4 separate regions of the Homo sapiens genome follow, and regions 2, 3 and 4 are each linked to region 1. Evidence: promoter capture Hi-C in human tissues and cell types (Jung and others, 2019). All regions are on one chromosome and are shown on one strand. Each heading gives the region's core, a stretch centred on a gene start or on the middle of the fragment in contact. The rest is flanking DNA. Distances are from core to core; before and after follow the strand shown.

Evidence for each region. Contacts are between HindIII fragments. The study calls those that stand out against the background at their distance.
Region 2: a contact is called between the fragment with the promoter of TUBB3 here and the fragment with the promoter of CHMP1A in region 1, in 1 of the 25 tissues and cell types used here (lymphoblastoid cells).
Region 3: a contact is called between a fragment that was not itself captured here and the fragment with the promoter of CHMP1A in region 1, in 1 of the 25 tissues and cell types used here (dorsolateral prefrontal cortex).
Region 4: a contact is called between a fragment that was not itself captured here and the fragment with the promoter of CHMP1A in region 1, in 1 of the 25 tissues and cell types used here (dorsolateral prefrontal cortex).

What each region holds. Positions count from the first base shown.
Region 1 is chr16:89,654,002-89,660,267 of GRCh38, reverse strand. It overlaps CHMP1A (charged multivesicular body protein 1A), which reads left to right and starts at 2,560. Exons shown (of 7, transcript NM_002768.5): 1 at 2,560-2,686. The coding sequence starts at 2,680. It overlaps SPATA33 (spermatogenesis associated 33), which reads right to left and starts at 2,432. Exons shown (of 3, transcript NM_001271907.2): 1 at 2,320-2,432; 2 at 1,847-2,020. The coding sequence starts at 2,356. RefSeq lists an enhancer at 2,279-2,448 and silencers at 2,164-2,553, 2,774-2,833. The HindIII fragment of the contact is 33,607 bases long and covers 1-6,266 here.
Region 2 is chr16:89,920,730-89,924,591 of GRCh38, reverse strand. It overlaps TUBB3 (tubulin beta 3 class III), which reads right to left and starts at 1,250. Exons shown (of 4, transcript NM_006086.4): 1 at 1,134-1,250. The coding sequence starts at 1,190. It overlaps MC1R (melanocortin 1 receptor), which reads right to left. Exons shown (of 1, transcript NM_002386.4): 1 at 3,620-3,862. RefSeq lists silencers at 994-1,243, 1,324-1,473, 1,494-1,583 and enhancers at 1,437-1,731, 1,654-2,537, 3,424-3,862. The HindIII fragment of the contact is 8,728 bases long and covers 404-3,862 here.
Region 3 is chr16:89,237,053-89,242,703 of GRCh38, reverse strand. It overlaps ZNF778 (zinc finger protein 778), which reads right to left. Exons shown (of 7, transcript NM_001201407.2): 7 at 5,563-5,651. Among named protein-coding and RNA genes, the nearest start is that of ZNF778, 22 kb to the right of the region's middle. RefSeq lists an enhancer at 563-1,079 and a silencer at 1,587-1,676. The HindIII fragment of the contact is 4,092 bases long and covers 1,052-5,143 here.
Region 4 is chr16:89,300,244-89,306,181 of GRCh38, reverse strand. It overlaps ANKRD11 (ankyrin repeat domain containing 11), which reads left to right. Exons shown (of 13, transcript NM_013275.6): 4 at 838-976. LOC124903757 (keratin-associated protein 5-2-like) reads right to left here. Exons shown (of 2, transcript XM_047435030.1): 2 at 5,195-5,938. The coding sequence ends at 5,821. Among named protein-coding and RNA genes, the nearest start is that of ZNF778, 86 kb to the right of the region's middle. The HindIII fragment of the contact is 5,718 bases long and covers 1-5,494 here.

The sequences.
Region 1 (6,266 bases), core at 1,311-3,810:
AAGGTTTCCTTGCTAATATGAAGCAAGGAGCAATGCCTTTGCAGTAGATGCAGTCCTGCCTGCGTGTGGGGGGCTGTACACTCATCGGGGGCTGTGGACACTGAGAGTGGTCAAGAAGAGACACGCAAAGTCTTTGATGTCACTGTTGTGCTAACAAGCCAACCTGGAAGCTCCACCTCTGACCCTTCATTCGTGAGACATTAAATCCCTGTGTTAAAGCTGCGTTTAGTGAGCTTTTCTGTAACTTTCAGCTAAAAGCACCGTGACAGACAGGTAGCATTTTCCAAACTGCCACCCAAGGGTGATGCTATTCCTGCAGGGTTCCATCCTCCGGTGGGGGGTTGCGCCCTCCTGTGAGGGGTTCCACCCTCCAGTGGGAGGTTCCAAAGTTGGGAATTCAAATCCAAGTCTTTCTTCCAAGTCCAAGGCCCAGAGCCTCCTACTTTCAGCCCTTGATCCTACAAGCGTGTCAGTGTGAAGCAGTCCAGGCCCAGCTCCTCTGCCTAGCAGGCCAGTCATCCCCCTGACATTCTTTCTTGTCTGACCCGAGTGGTTCTCTCCTTATTATTTTTTTTTTTTTCTGAGACAGAGTCTCACTCTGTAGCCCAGGCTGGAGTGCAGTGGTGCGATCTCGCTCACCACTACTTCTGCCTCCCGGGTCCCGGTTCAAGGTTCGAGCAATTCTCCTGCCTCAGCCTCCTGAGTAGCTGGGATTACAGGCACATGCCACCACGCCCAGCTAATTTTTGTATTTTTAGTAGAGACAGGGTTTCACCACGTTGGCCAGGCTGGTCTTGAACTCCTGACCTTAAGTGATCCACACGCCTCGGCCTCCCAAAGTGCTGGGATTACAGGCGTGAGCCACTGCGCCCAGCCGAGTGGTTCATTCTTGTGATGAAACTTAAAACACCTCCTCCTGGCACAGGCCCCCAATCTCCTCGGACGGCAGGCTCTGCGGGTTCTCCCTGCCTGACCCTTCTGCAATTCCTACTGCAAGGCCTTGCTGGCTCCCACTGGGCCACAGCAATGGGTCTCTGACCGGGCCACCTCCCCTGCGAACTGGCTTCCCCTGTTGGTAGGCACAGACCTCATCATGCCGCCCTTGTTTTTTATTTTTAAATATTTATTTTTTGTAGAGACAGGGTCTCACTATGTTGCCCAAGCTGGTCTTGAACTCCTGGGCTCAAAAGATCCTCCTGCCTCGGCCAAATAACTGGGAGGACAGGTGTGAACTACCGCCCCAGGCAGCACCTCCGTTGTTTAAAATATTTAACGCTTCCAGCTCCACGTGGTAAAACTGATGGAAAACTTTGTATTCTAGCTTCTTCCTACTTTTGGGGCCTCATCTTCCCCACACACACCCAAAGGTCTGGCCACACTAGGCTGTTATAAAAGACACCTTTGTCGCACCCAGGTTCTACTCCTCGGTCACCCTCCGCAATGTACTTATCCCCACAGCCCTCGGAGAGCTACAGTCCAGCCTGGGACGGCCTCCCAATGCTCTGTTCCAGTGTGCGGAGGCTCAGGGATTCTCAGTGGCACCAAGATACCCAGCCCTCGAGGAGAACCTCAGGTGAGACACACGCACACTGCCCCAGCCCCTCGACCACCTGGTACGCACTTATCACTCGGGAACTGACCTACATTTTCATTAAACTTATGTTTTCAACTAAGATTTCTGGATATTTACCTCCTACATAAAGTTCCCAAAACAAACCAGTTTCATCTTTACGGCGCGTGCCTGCTACTAGTGTCCATCCGGTAGGGTCTTACAGTAGGCTCCTCACCCCAGCCCCAGATCCTCCAAGCCACTGACCTCGCTTCGCTCCCTCCCGCCGTCTCCTACCTTCCAGCGAAGCTGCCGGCGGCGGGTGCTTGGCTGTCCCGGCCCCCGGGTGGAGGCTGTCCACAGGCTTCTCCGACTCCCTGTCTGCCTGCCTGGCTTCCTGGGAATGCTTCTCCATCAACTTCTCCTTAGATTTTGGAACTGAATAGGTGGATCCCTTCTTTTGCTCCTCACCTGAAATATATGGATCATCCGTTAGACCCGGGACTTACCGAATGCAGGGCAGTGGGTCCCATCGTCTTCAGTCGCCTGCGTGGGTCCAGAATAAGCTGGCTTCAAGTCTCGAGTCTCCGCGTTTCCGTAACCGCCTCAGGCGGGAAACGCGCCGTCCGTGGCGGACTCGGCGGCAGGAACGGTTCGCACCGGGCCGAGCCTGGCGCCTGCGCTCACACCGCCCCGCCCAGCCCAGCCCCGCCCTGGGCCCGCGCCCAGGGGCGGAGACGCGGGGAGCCCAGCGCCTGCGCCTCCTTTACCTTTCCTGGGTTTCTCTTTGCTTTTGGAAAGGCCCATGGGTGAGCCCACCGCCCCCTCCGACGCAAGCCCGGGTCCCCACACCTCCGCGGCCGCGGAGCCGGGAGCGACTCACAAAAGGTCCTCGCGCCAGCGGCGTGCGTCACCATGGCGACCGCGCGCCGCGCAGCCGCGCCCCGCCCCTCTGGCGGGACCGGCCACCATCCTCTCGCGAGAGCATCCCGTGCGACCGGAAGTGGGGCGGCGACCCCGGAAGTCCCCGCCGGGTGCAGCTTGGTCGGTTCGATCGCCGCCGGGACCTGACACCGCCCGGAGTTGGCGTCCCTTCTCCCTCTCCGAGTGCTGCTCCTGTCATTGTGGCCATGGACGGTAAGAGGTCGCGGCCGTCCTCCGGGGACTCGCGCGCGGGGCGGGGCCGCTTCTCCCACTGGCGTGGGCTCCGCCCACCTGGGGCCGCGGGCAGGACTCAGGAGAGCTCGGGCCTCGACCGTCGATCCCCCGGGACCCCATCCCCAGGGCCTCGACCACCGACCTGGGACCCCTTTTCCCGGTCGTCGTCCCCCGATCCCCGACCCGGACCCCATCCCCAGGGCCTCGACCACCGACCTGGGACCCCTTTTCCCGAGCCTCGTCCCCCGATACCCGACCCGGAACCCCTTCCCCAGGGCCTAGACCACCAACCCGGGACCCCTTTTCCCGGGCCTCGACCCTCGATCCCCGACCCGGAACCCCTTCCCCAGGGCCTCTACCACCGACCCGGGACCCCTTCTCCCGGGCCTCGACCCCCGACCACCGACCGGGACCCTTCCCAGGCCCCCGACCCCCAACCCGAGATCCTTTACCCCGGGCCTCGACCCTCGACCCGGGACCCCTCCCCCCAGGCCTCGATCCCCGACCCCCGATTCGGGACCCCTTCCCCGGGGCCTCCATCCCCAAATCTCAACCCGGTATGCCTTCCCCGGGGCCTCGACCTCTGACCCCCAACCATGGACCCGGGACCTAGACTCCCGACCCAGGACCCCTTGCCCAGGGCCTGGACCCCCGACCACCGACCCAGGACCCTTTCCCCCGCCCCTGGCACTCCTCAGCGTCAGGCGCCCTTTCCCGCCAGCTCGGTAGGGGGGACTGTGCGATGCCTGTTCGGCCTTTCGGGACTTGGAATGTCGGGTCAGAGGGCACCAGAAAAAGTGACAGTTGCACCCCCTGCCCCAAACAGCATCACTGCAAATCAGAAGGACTCAGACAGAAAGCGCTCCCTGAGTGCCAGGCCCTGGTCACAGCAGCTCTTTGCGTCCATTCTCCATGTGGGGAAGCAGAGGTTTGAGCAGGAGCCAGCACAAGCGTTTCTGTGCTCAATGGGTCGCCCTAATTCTTACCTTCTACATCTGGGGCTAGCCGGCTGTGTGCTCAGGGATACCAAAGAACAGGAAGAATCTGGCAAAATGAAGTCCTATGTTTGCTGAAACATCGTTGGGCTGGTGTGATGGGCAGGCTTTTAAAAATACTTTTTGAAGGGCTGGGCGCGGTGGCTCACGCCTGTAATCCCAGCACTTTGGGAGGCCGAGGCCGGCGGATCGCAAGGTCAGGAGATCGAGACCATCCTGGCTAACACAGTGAAACCCCATCTCTACTAGAAATACAAAAATATTAGCCAGGCGTGGTGGCGGGTGCCTGTAGTCCCAGCTACTCGGGAGGCTGAGGCAGGAGAATGGCGTGAACCCGGGAGGCGGAGCTTGCAGTGAGCCGAGATCGCGCCACTTCACTCCAGCCTGGGCGACAGAGCGAGACTCCGTCTCAAAAAAAATTCTTTTAGTTAGAAGTGTGAAAAGCTATAGTACCACCGTGTCATCATCATGAAGGAAATGTGTAGAGATTTTCTGCCCTGAGAGAAGATGAAAGATAACATCTACCTCCCGCCACAAAAAATATGCTGGCCAGGCCGGGTGTGGTGGCTCAGGCCTGTAACCCCAGCACTCTGGGAGGCCGGGCGCGGTGGCTCACGGCTGTAATTCCAGCACTTTGGGAGGCCGGATGTGGTGGCTCACGCCTGTAACCCCAACACTTTGGGAGGCCGAGGTTGGTTGATCACCTGAGGTCAGGAGTTTGAGACCAGCCTGGCCAACATGGTGAAACCCCGTCTCTTCTAAAAATACAAAAATTAGCTGGGCCTGGTGGCGTGCACGTGTAATTCTAACTACTTGGGAGGCTGAGACAGGAGAATCGCTTAAACCTGGGAGGCAGAGGTTGCAGTGAGCCAAGATGGTGCCGTTGCACTCTAGCCTGGGTGATAGAGTGAGACTCCGTCTCAAAAAAAAAAAAGAAAAATTGTGGCTTTTCACTCCACAGCTCACTCAACTCTTTTGAGGGGACTTCTCTCAAGCCCATGTCAGATTTCCTCAGAGTCAGATTTTGCCTTAGCTGGGTTTTTGTGCTGCCACACACGGCTGGAAGAGAAAGCTGAGGTGAGGAAAGCTGAGGTGAGGGAAAGCTGAGGTGAGGAAAGCTGAGGTGAGGAGAGCTGAGGTGAGGGAAAGCTGAGGTGAGGGAAAGCTGAGGTGAGGGAAAGCTGAGGTGAGGGAAAGCTGAGATGAGGAGGGCGGTTTGGCCAGCATCCCACAGTGAGTTGGGTGGGACGGCCCGCCTGGCCTGCACTGTGCCATCTGGGTCAGGCTGGCTGTTTTCCAGTCACAGATAACCTTGGCCGTGACCACACCTGAACTGATAGATGACAGGTTGAACTTGGCCTTGACCACGCCTGCACTGACAGGCGATAGATTGAACGATGCCCAGAGCTTTCTGGAACCCCGGGAGATCTCATCTTGGAGCCTTGGTGTGCATTTGTGAACACTCAGTAACCTCATTCTTTTACAGGCTCCATTTCCTCGTTGTGGCTAGTGTGGTAAAGCCCTTTCAGGAATCTGGGGTCAGGGTCGCTCTCCAAATTTAGCAGTTGAATGAATTGAGATCAATCCTACTTTTTAAAAAAAATATTTTTTCTTTTTTTTTTTGAGACGGAGTCTTGCACTGTTGCCCAGGCTGGAGTGCAGTGGCGCAATCTCGGCTCACTGCAAGCTCTGCCTCCCGGGTTCACGCCATTCTCCTGCCTCAGCCTCCTGAGTAGCTGGGACTACAGGCGCCCGCCACCACGCCTGGCTAATTTTTTGTATTTTTTGGTAGAGACGGGCTTTTACCGTGTTAGCCAGGATGGTCTCGATCTCCTGACCTCATGTTCCGCCGGCCTCGGCCTCCCAAAGTGCTGGGATTACAGGCGTGAGCCACCGCACCCGGCAAAAAAATATATATTTTTCTAATAGAGATGAGGTCTGACTATATTCCCTAGGCTGGTCTGGAACTCCTGACCTCAAGTGATCTGCCCGCCTCAGCCTCCCAGAGTGCTGTGATTACAGGCGTGAGCGACTGTACCGCTGGAAATCAGCTCTTTGATGTCTAAGAGTTACCACCTTGCTATTTTTATCCATTTACCTTTGAGGAGAAAGAGTCTGTAAAAAGTAAACTGTCAAGTACTGAACTTTTAAATTGGCCCAGGCTGGCCTCAAACCCTGGCTTTAAGTGATCCACTGGCCTCGGCACCCCCAGAGTGCTGGGATTACAGGTGAACTTTTAAATTGGGAAAGAATCCCAAGGGACATTTGCAAAGTTGCATTAATTATAAACCACCATCTTTTGGATTCTAACCATGGCCAAAAGATGCTGCGTCCATGACCTCTTCTGTCCTCACACTAACCCTTTGAGATTGGCTGGTACCACCCTCATGTTCCCAACAAGGAAACAGGGAGGGAGGGTCTGCATTTGCTGGGCCCTGTGGCTAGCAAGGAGCCAGGGCTGGCACACGAATCTGTCTCGTGCCTCCCCTGTTGGGGGGGGCTCCCCGAAGGCCCCAGGCAGGTGTGGTCTGTGTGTGTGTTCTAGCTCCTGGTGTCTAGAAGGA
Region 2 (3,862 bases), core at 1-2,500, 270 kb before region 1:
CTGCCTTTCTCTGGCCCCTTCCCCTCCAGGACCGTCTCCTGCACCCCCTCCTTCCCAGAATCAGCGCTGCACCAGCCCTGAGCTGGGTCCCTGGCCTTGGTCCTGACAAAGCCAGCCTCCCCCCCCGATCCCCTGTTCCCCAACACTGTTCGGAGGGCAGATCCTTTGGCAAGCAGCGCCCCCAACCCGCCCCGCCCGAGCCCCAGGTTGGCTCCTGCAGGGGATGAGAACCAAGGGCCAGCCCAGCTCTCTCGCACCTGCTGTGTGACCTTGGGCCAGGGACAGCCTCCCAGGACCAGGGGACACGACGTCCCCTTAATGATTTAGGCAGGGGTCCCTGCACAGCTGCACCAACGCCCCTTTCTGCGTGGCCCCAACATCTGCGAGGTGGGCTAACAATGGAGGGAGGGGCGCGCCACGGTGCAGCCTCCACACCCCACAGCCCGGCTTTGTTCCCACATCCAATCCCCAGACTGGTAGACCCTGGGTGGGCGCGGTCAAGCCCCGCGGGGGTTGCCCAGGAGCGGCTGCGCCGATGGAGAGCCTGGTCCTGGACCAAGGTCATCTCGAGTCCAGGCCCAACCCCTCCAACAAAGGGACAGGGTGGAGCTAGGACGCCGAGGGGTGTCGGAGCAGGCTGGGGAAATCGGGGCGGCTCTAGCCTCTCGGGGGACGTTCGGCTACTCCAGTGGGGGGTTCGGGCCGAGGAAATCACGGCTGTGAGGAGAACCCCCCACCCCACCCAAACCTGCCTACCCCACCCGTCTCACTCAAGGCTATGCCGCGGCCCCAAAAAAGAGGGCCACGCCCAGACAGGGCTCCCAGCTGCACCTGCGGAGGCCCGGTGGAGGGGGTGCAGGTGTGGAGGGGGCGCAGGTGTGGAGGGGGCTGAGGCTTCGCGACTGACGTGAGCTGCGCCTCGACAGCCCGAGGTCACCTGGGCAGGGGCAGAGAGGTGCAGGCGAGAGTCCCAGGGCGGGGGCCCCGCGTCCCGGCCGCCCGGCGCGGCGCTGGGCGCATCCCTTTGTTGCAGGTTCGCAGGGGCGGGGGCAGCTGGAGGTGCGGCCCGCGGGGCACGGCGCCTCCCTCCTCCCGCCCCGGGGCCCGGGACAGGCCGGGGCGCGCAGCCTCACCTTGGCCCCGATCTGGTTGCCGCACTGGCCGGCCTGGATGTGCACGATCTCCCTCATACTGGGCGCGTCTGGCGGGCGGCTGCGGACGGGCGCGGGCGGGCCGGGCTGGCTGCTGAGGGTCGGGGACCGCGGCCGCGCGCTCTTATAGCCGCGGCCCCGCCCTTCGCATCGGCTGATGTCACCGCGGGTGGCCAATCGGGAGGCGCCGCCGCAGAGCCCCGCCCGGCCCGCAGGCTCCGCACCGCGCGTCCCCGCCCGCCGCGCGCAATGCGGCGCCCCTCCCGCAGCCAAGGATCCCCCAGCGCTGGGCCGGGCGCGGTCTGAGGGCCCCGCGCATTCGAAAGGAGGGGCTGTCTCCCAGAGGAGCTGGCTGTGGGGGCGCCGGGCTCCAGGGAGGACAATGGCCCCTCTTGGCCCTGGGAACCCCGCCCCCAGCTACCCTCTCGGTTCCGCCCTTGCGACAGCCCCACCCTGCGGCTTTGTACGGAGGGTCTTTTTTCCCCACGCCGGTTTAGAGACCAACCCGCACCATCCCAGCTCCCTGTCTTTTGGCAGACAAGGTGCTCTGAGCTTTTGCCGGTTTTGGGTGGGGGAGGTAGGTAAAGGCTGGCCCAGGCCCTGAACCCACTGAGAAGAAACAAAGCGTCGGATCAGAGCTCGGAAGGGCGCGAACACAGAGGGGTGGCGGCGGCCGAGAGCGAGCTCCGTGGGTCGCCGGCTTCCGCAGTGGGCGGGGAGGGGGTGGGCACCCGACCTCCTCCACCAAGGGGCTGCCATGAGCGTCCAAAGGAGCTTTGTGGGCCCGGGCGCGCACAGCACCTGGACGTGCCACTGCCCGGTGCGCATCCGTGTCAGGAATTGTCACAAGGACGCACAAGCCAGGCAAGAACCCGGCCAGGGTGGGGGAGGGTGGGCAGCGGCTTCTATCTGACTCACTCTCTGAGGTCGGAGACTGCGTGCAGGGGGGCCTCGGGGGAGCGACTGGAGATGCGTTTACTGGTCAGAGAAGGAAGGGAGCAAAGGACTCGCCGGCACGGCACTGACCTCCTCCTGGGCCAGATATTACAGTGCCACCACCTTAGAACAAGGGCCTTCTGATACTTCAGTAACAAAAATCCTTCAGGAAGGGTCTGACAGTGCACGATGTACAGACGAACCCCACCCGGCCCCCAAATCAGCATTCACTTCACAAAATGAGCAGCTGCGAACTTGCCTGTGGACGCCTGTGTCCGGTCTGTGTGCACAGGGCTGTGTGTGGGTGGCGTGGACCTGTACCTGTCTCTCTCTTTTCTCTCAAGAAGCTCTCCAGTTTGGAAAGTCGAGAAATGGATCTTTTGTTCTCAAGAGATGCCCCTCCCTGCCCCACAGTGTGCTCGTGTGGCTGCTGCTGGGGTCTAGCTGCCTGGGGTTCCTCCCTGTCCCTGTTCAAGGGAGTCCGGGGTGAGTGTCTGAGGTGCCTCCCTGTCTCCACGAGGGAAGAAGTTTTGCAGCCTCAGGGCAGCCAGCTCCTGCTCCATCCTCAGAGGGGTCTGGTGCCGGGCTTAAGGCTGACTCACCGTCCGGTCTCCCAGCAGAGGCGGGCCCTGCCAGGAAGCAGCTCCCAGTTCTGAGGCCGGCAGTCAGGGGTGGGGCTGGCCAGGGGGCTGCTGACTGAGCCTGCGTAGGAGTCGGCTGATGGCCCTGCAGCCTCCATTGAGCCTGTCCCAGGAAGGGGGCTGACTGAGTGCTCAGTCTCTGCAGAGGAAATGGAGGTGGTCTCTTCAGCGAGACGCCCAGGTTTCAGCAGAGGGATGGCCCAGGGGCGCCACTGCTCCCCAGCACCAGGCAGCATAGTTCATCCCCAGGTACTCACTCCCAGGGACTTCTCCGCCGGCTGGGCCTCTGCCTCACTGCCATCTTCAGAAGCCTCACATCAAGCATTTCCCAGGACTGGCTGAACACAGACCCTCCACCCCCGACCCCTTCCCCACCTGCCTACTCCCAGAATGGCAGTGCTGGGCAGACAGCAGACCCAGCCCCCAGCCCACCTGCACTGAGCCCCCTTCCAGGCATCTCAGAGTGGACAGGGATGGTCCCATTCACGGCTCATCATGGCTGGAGGGACTCAGGGCCAGGGCCAGCAAAGGGATGTGTCCCGGCTGAGGTCACATGTGGTCACAGGGAAGGCTGGGAACCCGCCTCTTCTGCAGCTAGGACAGCGTCAAGAGTGGAGGGGACTGGGGCCCTGCTGCACCTGCTCGTCCTTCCTCTAGGCTGGGGTTTGTCAGCACGGAGAGAAAACCGAGAAGCAGGGTCAGCGCAAGCCTGGTTGGGACCTCCACACTCCCCAGGCATTTGGGGCCTCTGGGGCTGTGGCTTCCTCACCTGGGGAGGCAGCCACGTTTTCCGGGACTCCTTTCTTCCCTCTCGACTCTCACCCCTGCCCACCTTCCCCTCCCCCATCCCTCCACCCGCAAACTTCAAGCACTTTCTGGAAGGGGCTAAGGTGGGTGATGCTGAGTCACATTTATTACCAGACTTTCCTGGCCCCATGCTCACAGGCACTGGTCACTGAGTCAGGCATTTGCCAGGGCTGTCTGCTTGGGCGACTGCTGCAGGAAAGCAGGCTGAGGCCCCAGTGCCCAGTCTGAGCCTTAGAACCGGCCCTCAGGAGGGCTCAGCCCCATACCACTAGGGGGGCTCCTGCAAACCTGGTCCCTTGGCCTGAGGCAGGGATTTCACCTCCTTTT
Region 3 (5,651 bases), core at 1,848-4,347, 420 kb after region 1:
CGAGACCATCCTGGCTAACACGGTGAAACCCCGTCTCTTCTAAAAATACAAAAAAAATTAGCCGGGCGTGGTGGCGGGTGCCTGTAGTCCCAGCTACTCGGGAGGCTGAGGCAGGAGAATGGCGTGAACCCGGGAGGCAGAGCTTGCAGGGAGCCGAGATCGCGCCACTGCACTCCAGCCTGGGCGACAGAGCGAGACTCCGTCTCAAAAAAAAAAAAATTAGACGTTTGAATCTAATAATATAACTCTGAAAGTCAGACTCTCCCCATTCCCCAGGGTTTGCTGGGTTTTGGTTTTGTTGACTGTTGTGTTTTTTGTTGTTGTGGGCTGCCTCTGTGCTGATGCTCAGCCTGAGGTGTCAACTGAAGACATTCTCACGTCTTTCCTGATCATCTATCTATATTTATATATATAACATATATAAATATATAGTAAATATATATGTATATATACACACACACACATACGTGTGTGTGTGTGTATATATATATATATATATTTTTTTTTTTTTTTTTTTTGAGACAGAGTCTAGCTCTGTCACCCAGGCTGGAGTGCAGTGGGGCGATCTCAGCTCACTGCAAGCTCCGCCTCCCGGGTTCACGCCATTCTCCTGCCTCAGCCTCCAGAATACCTGGAAGCACAGGCGTGAGCCACCACATCCGGCTAATTTTTTAAACTTTTTTTCGTAGAGACACGGTCTCCCTGTTTCCCAGGCTGGTCTCAAACTCCTGGACTCTAGCGATCCCCCCAGCTTGAGCTCCCAAATTGCTGGGATTCCCGTCGTGAGCCACCATGTCCAGTCTAACTGTCTTTTAAAGAAGTTTAAAAATTACTCTCTAGCTGCGCAAGGTGGTTGGTGCCTGTAATCCCAGCAGTGTGGGAGGCTCTGGTGGGAGGACCACTCGAGCCCAGGAGGCTGAGGCTGCAGTGAGCCACGATAGCGGCACTGCACTGCAGCCTGGGCGACAGAGCGAGATCCTGACTCAAAAAAAAAAAAAAAAAGAAAAGAAAAGAAAAAGAAAAGAAAAAAGAAGAAAACACTTAAAGGATGACATCATTTTCGGGCGTTTCGTCCTTTGGGATTTGCCGTTTTCAGGATTTCACACCGTAGGGATGTTGATCTCTTGTGACTTCAACACTCCGGGTTCTGCTCTTCAAGACTCTGGCTGAGGTCTGTTTCAAACAGAGCCCAAACACGCAGATCTGTCGTCATCTAGGTCCCGTCTGCCCTGTGTGCCCTGTGAAATGGTGCCAAACATCCGCTAGCCACAGAAAAACCGACACCTGAGAGCTGTCGGTCCCCCAGCCCCGGCTGCCCTTCAGACGGTACCGACCGCGGCTCCCGCCGGGCTGCTGAGTGTGTCACTGTCGCCCAGCACACGAGCCCCTCTCCGATCCCCCGAGTTCCTCACCGAGTCCCTTACCCCCGGAAGTCCCTCGCTCTCCTCCCTTCCCCCCGGAAGTCCCTCGCTCTCCTCCCTTCCCCCCGGAAGTCCCTCGCTCTCCTCCCTTCCCCCCGGAAGTCCCTCGCTCTCCTCCCTTCCCCCCGGAAGTCCCTCGCTCTCCTCCCTTCCCCCCGGAAGTCCCTCGCTCTCCTCCCTTCCCCCCGGAAGTCCCTCGCTCTCCTCCCTTCCCCCCGGAAGTCCCTCGCTCTCCTCCCCTTCTGAGCGGTGACCCCCACCCCGAAGCCGGCGAGGCACCGCGGAACCCGGTCTGCCTGCGCTACCGCCCCCTGCTGGCCAGGCCCTCTTCCCAATCGCCCCGAAACCATTCACATCACCCACGTGTGCACGTTTTGTCCACATTTAGATCCCTGATCCATTTGCAGCTTATTCCTGTGAACGGTGTAATTTTTTGGGGGGCGGGGGGAAGGCGGGGTCTCGCTCTGTCACCCAGGCTGGAGTGCAGTGGCGCCATCTCGGCTCACTGCAAGCTCCACCTCCCGGGCTCAACCAATTCTCCTGCCTCAGCCCCCTGAGTAGCTGGGATTACAGGCCCGCACCACCATGCCTGGCTAACTTTCGTATTTTTAGTACAGATGGGGTTTTTCTTTTCTTTTCTTTTCTTTTGAGATGGAGTCTCACTGCTGCCCAGGCTGGAGTGCAGTGGCGCGATCTCGGCTCGCTGCAAGCTCCGCCTCCCGGGTTCACGCCATTCTCCTGGCTCAGCCTCCCGAGTAGCTGGGACTACAGGCGCCCGCCACCACGCCCGGCTAATTTTTTTGTATTTTTAGTAGAGACGGGGTTTCACTGTGTTAACAAGGATGGTCTCGATCTCCTGACCTCGTGATCCGCCTGCCTCGGCCTCCCAAAGTGCTGGGATCACAGGCGCGAGCCACTGCGCCTGCCCGAGATGGGGTTTCACCATGTTGGCCAGGCTGGTCTCGAACTCCTGATCTCAACTGATCTGCCCCCCCTTGGCCTCCCAAAGTGCTAGGATTACAGGCGTGAGCCGCCACACTCGACCTGAACGGTGTAATTTATACATGTAAAACCATCTTGTTCAGACAGCTCACCAGTTGTCCTAGCACCTTTCATTACAAACTGCATTTTTGCCCCACTGATCTGAAATACCCACTTTATTAACTAAATTTCCATGTTGCTAGGTCTATTTCCAGATATTCCATTTTTGTCCATCTGTCTGCTTCCTGGTCATGTGTCACATACCTTAATTACAGCGGCTTTAGAGGATGCTGCAGTGTCCACAGGGAAGCATCAGTTTTGTCTCCTGGGTTTCTTGGGCACCATCAGACGTCTGTGCCCCCACATGAACTTCAGCGTCAATCTGCATTAACTCCACAAAAAGCTTTTGGTGCTGTTGTAACTGGGATTATGTTTCATTTCTGAATTAAGAATGGGATTTTTATGATGTTGTCATCCCATCAAAGAACAAGGAATTTGCCCGTTTGTTCAAGTCTATGTGGTTTTTTTTTTTTTTTTTTTTTTTTTTTTTTTTTTTTGAGACAGTCTTGCTCTGCCACCCAGGCTGGAGTGCAGTGGTGTGATCTTGGCTCACTGCAAGCTCCACCTCCTGAGTTCACACCATTCTCCTGTCTCAGCCTCCTAAGCAGCTGGGACTACAGGCGCCCGCCACCACACCTGGCTAACTTTTTGTATTTTTCATAGAGATGGGGTTTCACCATGTTAGCCAGGATGGTCTCGATCTCCTGACCTCGTGATCCACCCGCCTCAGCCTCCCAAAGTGCTGGGATTGCAGGCGTGAGCCATCGCGCCTGGCCTAGAAGTTTTTAATTAGCCTGGTGTGGTGGTGTGCACCTGTAGTCTCAGCTACTTGAGAGGATGAGGAGGAAGGATCGCTTGAGCCCTGGAGGTCGAGGCTGCAGTGAGCTGTGATCACACCACTGCACTGCAGCCTGTGGGACAGAGCAAATCCCCATCTAAAAAAAAAAAGTGTTTTAAAGTTTCCTCATGGCCGGGCACGGCCCGGTGGCTCACGCCTGTAACCCCAGCATTTTGGGAGGCCGAGACGGACAGATCATGAGGTCAGGAGTTTGAGACCAGCCAGGCCAACATGGTGAAATCCCGTCTCTACTAAAAATACAAAAATTAGCCGGGCGTGGTGGCAGGTACCTGTAATACCAGCTACTTGGGAGGCTGAGGCAGGAGAATCACTTGAACCCAGGAGGTGGAGGTTGCAGTGAGCCGAGATCATGCCACTGCACTCCAGCCTGGATGACAGAGCGAGACTCTGTCTCAAACAAACAAACAAACAAAAAGTTTCCTCATTTAGGTTTTATACATTTCTTGATAAATTTATTTCTAAGCATTGTTTTATTGCTATTATAAATAAGTTTTCTCTACTATCATATCACCTCACTGGTTATTGGTTGTGTAGATGAAGACCATCTATGTTTTGACGGCAACTTCACCTCCTCTAACTTACTAAATGTTTTTACTGATTCTACAGGGCTTTCCATGTATATCATATAATGCACACAAGAGATAGTTCACTTTTTTGCAAATCTGTTTTGCCCAATTGCATTAGGTAACACTTCCAGTACACACACACACACATATAGCTACAGACACAGGCGTCCTAAGAAAGTATTCACCAATTCCTATTTTGAGTGCGTCTATCAATAGTAGGTACCACATTTTCCCAAAGGCTTCATCAACACCTATGGATACAATCACATGCCTTATCTTCTTAGATGGATTCATATGGTGTAGTATTTAATAGGCTTTCTAATTGAACCAGTTGCAGTCTTAAATTCCACTTGGTCATGGTTTATTATTTTCTCAATGTGGTTTTGTATTATTTGCTAATATTTAACATAACTAATTTGAATCAATATAATTAACACTGTAATTTTTCATTTTTGTGGTCTTTTATCACATTTTGCTTTTAACTTTTATTTATGAGATGGAGTTTTGCTCTTGTTGCCCAGGCTGGAGTGCAATGGCGCTATCTCGGCTCATTGCAACCTCCACCTCCCGGGTTCAAGAGATTCTCCTGCCTCAGCCTCCCAAGTAGCTGGGATCACAGGTGCCTGCCACCATGCCCGGCTAATTTTGTATTTTTAGTACAGACAGGGTTTCGCCATGTTGCCCAGGCTGGTCTTGAACTGCTGGCCTTAAGTGAGCCAGCCACCTCAGCCTCCCAAAGTGTTGGGATTACAGGCATCAGCCACTGCACTCAACACCCTGTGGTAATTTTCTTTGTGCTGAAGTCATTTTTTCTGATGTTAAATACAGCCTCTCCACTTTATTATGTTTACATGGTACTATTAACCTATTTACGTCATTGTATTTGAAGTGTCTTGTAGATGACATACTGATGCGTCACACTTTTTATCTGTCCTATCTTTAAATAGCATGTGTAGATCATATTTTTTTTTTGAGATGAAGTCTTGCTCTGTTGCCCAGTCTGGAGTGCAGTGGCACGATCTTGGCTCATTGCAACCTCCACCTCCTGGGTTCAAATGATTCTCCTGCCTCAGGTTCCTGAGTAGCTGCGACCACAGGCATGAGCCACCAAACCTGGCTAATTTTTGTATTTTTAGTAGAGACAAGGTTTTACCGTGTTGGCCAGGCTGGTCTGGAACTCCTGACCTCAAGTGATCCACCCGCCTCGGCCTCCCAAAGTGCTGGGATTACAGGCGTGAGTGCCCAGCTGATCATGTGCACTAATGTGTTTGATTATCTAGGATTCAGCTCTACCAGTTATTTTTTATTTTTTATTTTAGACAGAGTCTTGCTGTCACCCAGGCTGGAGTACAGTGGCGCGATCTCAGCTCACTGCCACCTCCACCTCCCCGGTTCAAGTGATTCTCCTACCTCAGCCTCCCACGTAGCTCGAATTATAGGCTCCCACCATCACCCCTGGCTAACTTTGTATTTTTAGTAGAGACGGGATTTCACTATGTTGGCCAGACTGGTCTGACTCCTGACCTCAAGTGATCCGCCCGCCTCGGTCTCCCACAGTGCTGGGATGACAGGCCTGAGCCACCGCACCTGGCCACCACTTCGTTACCTACTTGTTCTCTTTTGTTCCCAGTACTCAGTTTCCCCTTTATCACAATTCTTTCAGGCTATTTAACACTTTTTTTAGTAGTATGTTTTAATTAACATATTGGACCATTTTAGTATATCTCATTGTCCTTTTTTTTTTTAGACAGAGTCTTGCTCTGT
Region 4 (5,938 bases), core at 1,386-3,885, 350 kb after region 1:
GCGCGTGTCTGCGGAGTGGGAGGTGGTGCGTGTCTGCGGAGTGGGAGGTAAGTGGCGTGTCTGCGGAGTGGGAGGTGGCGCGTGTCTGCGGAGTGGGAGGTAGATGGCGCGTGTCTGCGGAGTGGGAGGTGGGTGGCGCGTGTCTGCGGAGTGGGAGGTGGGTGGCGCGTGTCTGCGGAGTGGGAGGTGGGTGGCGCGTGTCTGCGGAGTGGGAGGTGGGTGGCGCGTGTCTGCGGAGTGGGAGGTGGGTGGCGCGTGTCTGCGGAGTGGGAGGTGGGTGGCACGTGTCTGCGGAGTGGGAGGTGGGTGGTGCGTGTCTGCGGAGTGGGAGGTGGTGCGTGTCTGCGGAGTGGGAGGTAAGTGGCGCATGTCTGCGGAGTGGGAGGTGGCGCGTGTCTGCGGAGTGGGAGGTGGCGCGTGTCTGCGGAGTGGGAGGTAGGTGGCGCGTGTCTGCGGAGTGGGAGGTGGCGCGTGTCTGCGGAGTGGGAGGTGGCGCGTGTCTGCGGAGTGGGAGGTAGCGCGTGTCTGCGGAGTGAGAGGTAGCGCGTGTGTGTCTCCTCTGCTTTCTCCACACACACCAGCGATTTCCTGAGCGTCCCTCCGGTGCGCAGGATGAGAAATGGGCCAGAGTCAGGGCTGAGCCACAGCCCGACCCCGGGCTTCTGGGTGAAGGTTCTGCGGTCGGTGACCAGCCTCACACAGCCACGCCCTGGGGTGCAGGGAGGGTGTTCATTGCCCAAATAAGAGATGCGCTTCTCCTGGCATATGAAACAAAATCTTGAGAGCTTGAGAATGTAATTTGGACATCACGACTGAAAGCATCCCTTTCTTTTCTAGGATAAAGATAAAGTTTCTCTAACCAAGACCCCAAAACTGGAGCGTGGCGATGGCGGGAAGGAGGTGAGGGAGCGAGCCAGCAAGCGGAAGCTGCCCTTCACCGCGGGCGCCAATGGGGAGCAGAAGGACTCGGACACAGGTACCAGCCCGCGGCCCCTCCTGCAGTCAGCCCTCCACAGGCAGCCCGGAGCAGCCCAGGCAGGGCGTCCCTGGCCCCCGCACCTCCGGCTTTGCACTGGGACGCACTCTAGCACCCTGCACGCCGTCCAGGCAAGAGGCAGCAGGGGCGGAGCACAGGCCCCCACATGCCACCTCCTTTGCACCCGAGGCTCAGGCCCATGGGGCCGATTGGAGAGCTTCACTCTTGGGTCCCACACACGTGGAGATGCACCCGGTGCATGTCCAGCCCTGGGCGAGGTATGGGGCTGCTCACCTGTGGGTCTTCTGACAGCTGGACACGGGAGGGAGACAGTGGTTCCCCTCAGGGCCACAAAGGCACAGGAAGAAACTCCATTGCTTGTAGTAAAAACCAAAGGGAGCCCTAAAAGTGAGCAGGAGGCAGGGAGGTCTTCCCAAGCACAGGCGGGGTCTGAGGCTGCAGAGCAGGAATGTGTGTGCTGTGTGCCTGTGCCAGAGTGTGTGCCCAAGTGTGTATGCCTGTGTGTATGTGTGCCCATGTGCACATGCCCGTGTATCTGTGTGCATGCCCTCATGTGTGTGCCTGTATGTATGCCCGTGTGTGTGCCCGTGTGTGTATGTACTTGTATGTACCCATGTATGTGTGTGCCCGTGTATGTGCTTGTGTGTACCCATGTGTGTGCCTGTATGTGTGCCTGTGTATGCGTGCCCGTCTATGCCCGTGTATGTGTGCCCATGTGTGCCTGAGTATGTGTATGCTTTTGTGTGCCTGTGTGTGCCTGTATATATGTGCGCTCATGTGTGTATGCCCATGTGTGCGTTTGCATGTGTGTGCATGTGCATGCCTGTGTATGCGCCCGTGTGTGTGTGCATGCCTGTGTGTGCCCATGTGTACGTGTGTGCCTGTGTGCCCATGTGTGCATGCCTGTGTGCCCGTGTGCAAGCCCATGTGTGTTCATGTGCACACGCTCCTGGTGGGGTCAGCGCCTTCTGCAGTGACACCTTCCCAGTGGATTCTGTCTTGAGCTGCTTGCAGGGAGCCCAGAGGCCTCTGCGCTGGCCGTGCTTGCTCTTTGGTGATTCTTGTGTCCAGAGGCCTCCTTGTCCTCCTGGTCATCCAGCTTCTCTACAGCCCTGCTGGGGAAGGTTGGAGGCAGTAGAGCACTAAGCTGGCCACAAAGCCTGGAGTGAACCGGGAGAGTGCTGAGTCAGGCCCTCGGCTCTGTCCCTGGCTTCCTGAGACTTCTTGAATGCAGCCATAGCACAAGGCGTAGAGGCTGTGCCAGGATGCGGGCTTGAGAGCAGATGGGGGAAGTGGTCCAGGTGAGAAGAGCTCGTGATACGAAGGAGATTGTTGAAGAGGAACGGCAGCAGGCACAGCCAGTAAAGAGGATCCACACCCCAGCTTTTGTCAGCACAGCTCAGCAAGCTTCAGCCTTTATGATTGTGTGGCTGCCGCAGGCCTGTGGCCCCTCCTGTCCTATGTGGGGTGCTCCAGGGATGTGCTCACAGTAGCCAGGTGGAGACTCTGCTGAGTGAAAGGCCAGCAGAGAGGGCTGGTTTTCCCAGATGGGAAGTGAGGGGCAGGTGCAGTGCCAGGCACATGGCTCCTGTCTCTGGGCCAGCACATCTGGGGACAGGAAGGCTGCAGGGACACCAGCACAGGCCCAGGAGGACTCCTCTTCCCAGCAGCGGACAGCTCCGAGGAAGAACACTGGGAGACACGGGGAAGTGAGTGGACAGAATGTGTGGATGGGTTGTGTAAGGGACCTCAGCCCCCAGAAGGGAGGGCCTGGGTGACTCCCTGGAGCTCCCAGCGGTGCTGTGTACTCTCGGGCTTTAGGCCTAGAGAAAGTCAGTCCAGGCCTGAAACCCTGTGTTTGCCGTCTTTGGTCCCCATGCTGGTTTTGGTTGTAGAAGGCCGTCATGTTGATACGTAGCTGTTAGCTCTTTGCACAGTGGCCATGCGGGAGTTGGCCTCAGACCTTTGAGGTGTTTCTGTGATGTCTCTGGAGGTGTTGCTGAAAGGGTTAATGAGACAAGCATCTGCTTCTGCTTCCTGGGAGAATGATCCCACTTGGTAAGGTGGCGTTCCCAGGGCTACCTGGTGCCCACCCCATCTGGCTGCTCAGGTCTCTTTGTGGTGGCCGTTTCATCATGGTGCAGAGAAGCTCTCACCCAGGGCCCTGTTGTGTTGTCAGAAGCTTCCGGGGTCTGTCTGTTGATGGTTAGCGCCTGCGTGGTGCCAGCCGTGCTGGCCCACTGAGGCCATTCTCGCTCTCTGTGGGTCTCTGGGATATTTTCTGCCACAGCCCTGGGTGCTCCTGGAACTGCGTGTTGAACACCATGTCCTTACTCTGTGAGGGGCAGGCCTAGGTGAGGACAGGGTAGGTGAGAATCCCTGTGAGGTGGGAAAACAGTAAAGAACATTTTGAAAATAGAATTTTCCAGGCAAGGATTGTAACAAAAAGACCTAAGAAACGTAGTATTTGTCCTCCTGTGTTTATCACCCTTTCGGGGCCAATTTTAATAACTTCTTGTTTAATGTTGCAAAACTAGATTTCCTAGGAAGATTGTTCTGATGTATGAGTGTGGAGCGTTGCTTATCCTAGAAGCTTGCATTTTAACCAGGACCCTCTTAAAGTAGCAAGTCCACAGCCAGGCGCGGTGGCTCACGGCTGTAATCCCAGTACTTTGGGAGGCCGAGGCGGGCAGATCACAAGGTCAGGAGTTCGAGACCAGCCTGACCAACATGAAGAAACCCTGTCGCTACTAAAAATACAAAAATTAGCCAGGTGTGGCGGCGGGTGCCTGTAATCCCAGCTACTCGGGAGGCTGAGGCAGGAGAATTGCGTGAACCCAATAGGTGGAGGTTGCAGTGAGCCAAGATTGCGCCATTGCACTCCAGCCTGGCAACAGAGCAAGACTCCGTCTCTAAATAAATAAATAGTAGCGAGTCCAACTCCAGTGCGTTCAGCCCCACCCTGGGCCGGGAGGCTGCTGGGCGCTGTGGCTCTCACACACGCCGCGTCCCCTCCTTCCCCCAGAGGAGCCGTTCTTGCTCAGAAATGAGTGGGGTGGAGGGAGAGGCGCACACCAGCAGGGATGAGAAGAGAAACATTGGTGCAGGGTTAACTGACACGTGACAGACAAGAGACTCTTCTCTGGTCCCCAGCAGTCAGGCCTCTCTGGAGGGGTGTGGGTGCCCCTTGCTATGGTGGGAGGGATGCAGGGTCACCACCGTGCCGGATGCCTTGGCTGTGTCCAAGTGGCAGAGGCTGGCACGTCTCCCTCAGAGACCTCCATGTTGCTGTGGGGATGGCTTCCCGCCTCCCAGATGCAGGGTTGAGTCGGCCCTGCCCGCGGTCCAGTGCCATGGAGATGTGGCCTCTGCGGTGCTTAGTCAGGGCTGGGGGCCGCCTGCCAAGAACAATGTGATTCTGTCTGTTGTGAATCAGCCCAGTTTAAAGCAGTCCCCGAGGCTGTGCATCCGCGTGGTCCCTGCACAGCAGCCTGGAGGCTGTCCAGGCAGACGTGAGCATGTGACAGCATCACCTCTGTGTCTTCCAGAGCGCTGGGCAAGAGCCCGTCCTAGGACCAGGCCTCTGTAAGGGCTGTGGGTGCAGCAAGGAGTGGGAAGGCACCTGCCATGTCCCGGCCCCAAGACAGCTCTGCCCACCGAGCCCTCTCAGACCAGCTTGCCCTGGGACTTCTAGCCCATCTTGCCTGCCCTGCTCTGCCTGCCCTGTCTGCCCGGGGCCTCTTGTATCTGCTTTTGAAGTCTGTCCTCTACCACCTCAAGGGTGGTCTCAGTTTAAAAAGCCTTATCACTGAAAGCATTCATATTAAATTATATGATATCTGGGATTTGCTTCAAATGATACTACTTTGTCTACTTTTTTATATGTGTAAGGTTTCCCAAAACTTAAAAAATCTAAAAGTAGCCAGGCACAGTGGCTCACACCCTTCACCCTTCCAGCACTTTGGCGGGAGGATCCCTTGAGGCTAGGAGGTCAAGGCTGCAGTGAGCCGTGATTGCGCCACTGCCCTCCAGCCTGGGCGACAGAGTGAGACCCTGTCCATAAAAAATAAAATAGATAAATAAATAATCAGTCAACCAGCGAATGTTTTTGAGGTTGCTGTGCATCATTGCCTGGCCTCCCTGGGGTTCTGGGGAGCCTCCTGCCCCGCTGTTTCTCCTGCGCCTTCGTCTGTGACCCTGAGTCTCGCTTCTCCCTGCCTAGGACCGCCGGGGTCCTGCTTGTCCTGGGGCAGCCACGAGGGAGCCCTCGTCAGGAGCGCCATGGGCCGAAGCTGCCTGCCCTCTGCACGTGGATGTTTCTTTGGAACAAGGGGAAAAATTATGATTTTCTTATTTTGCTTTGACCTGTGAATGACACCCTGGTCTCTGGTGCCTGGGGTGTGCTCTCTGCAGTGCTGCCAGGCACATGCTGGTTCCTTCAGCGTTAGGTGCTTGGCACCTTCAGTCTTTTCCTGACGTCATGTTTGTTCCTGGTGCCTCAGATAGGAGACGGCTGTTCTGACGGCTCCTGCTTCCCCATTCCTGGAGGGAAGACAGACTTAGCCACTGGTATCTGTGGGACTTCTTGGAACTCTGAATGCCAGACCTTGCCCAGTGCTAGAGGCGACAAGTGTGTGAAGTTGAAGAGGCTTCTCCCACCCGCTCAGCTGCAGTGGACCCGAGCGGGCAGAGAGAGCAGAGTGCAGCAGGGGCCAGGCTGTGCTCGCAGGCGGGGCAGGTGCCTGGAGAGCATGGCGCCCCTGGGAGCCTCTGGCCAGGAAGGGCATGTGCACTGCAGTGTGCCGTGGACCAGTGGCCTCAGCTCAGTGTGTTGACGAGGGTCCCAAGGCACTCACGTGTGTGGGGATGTTAGCAACACACGGCGGGAAGCCCTGATGCAGTTTCTCACCAAGCGTGTAGCAGACCCCACGCACCCCACAC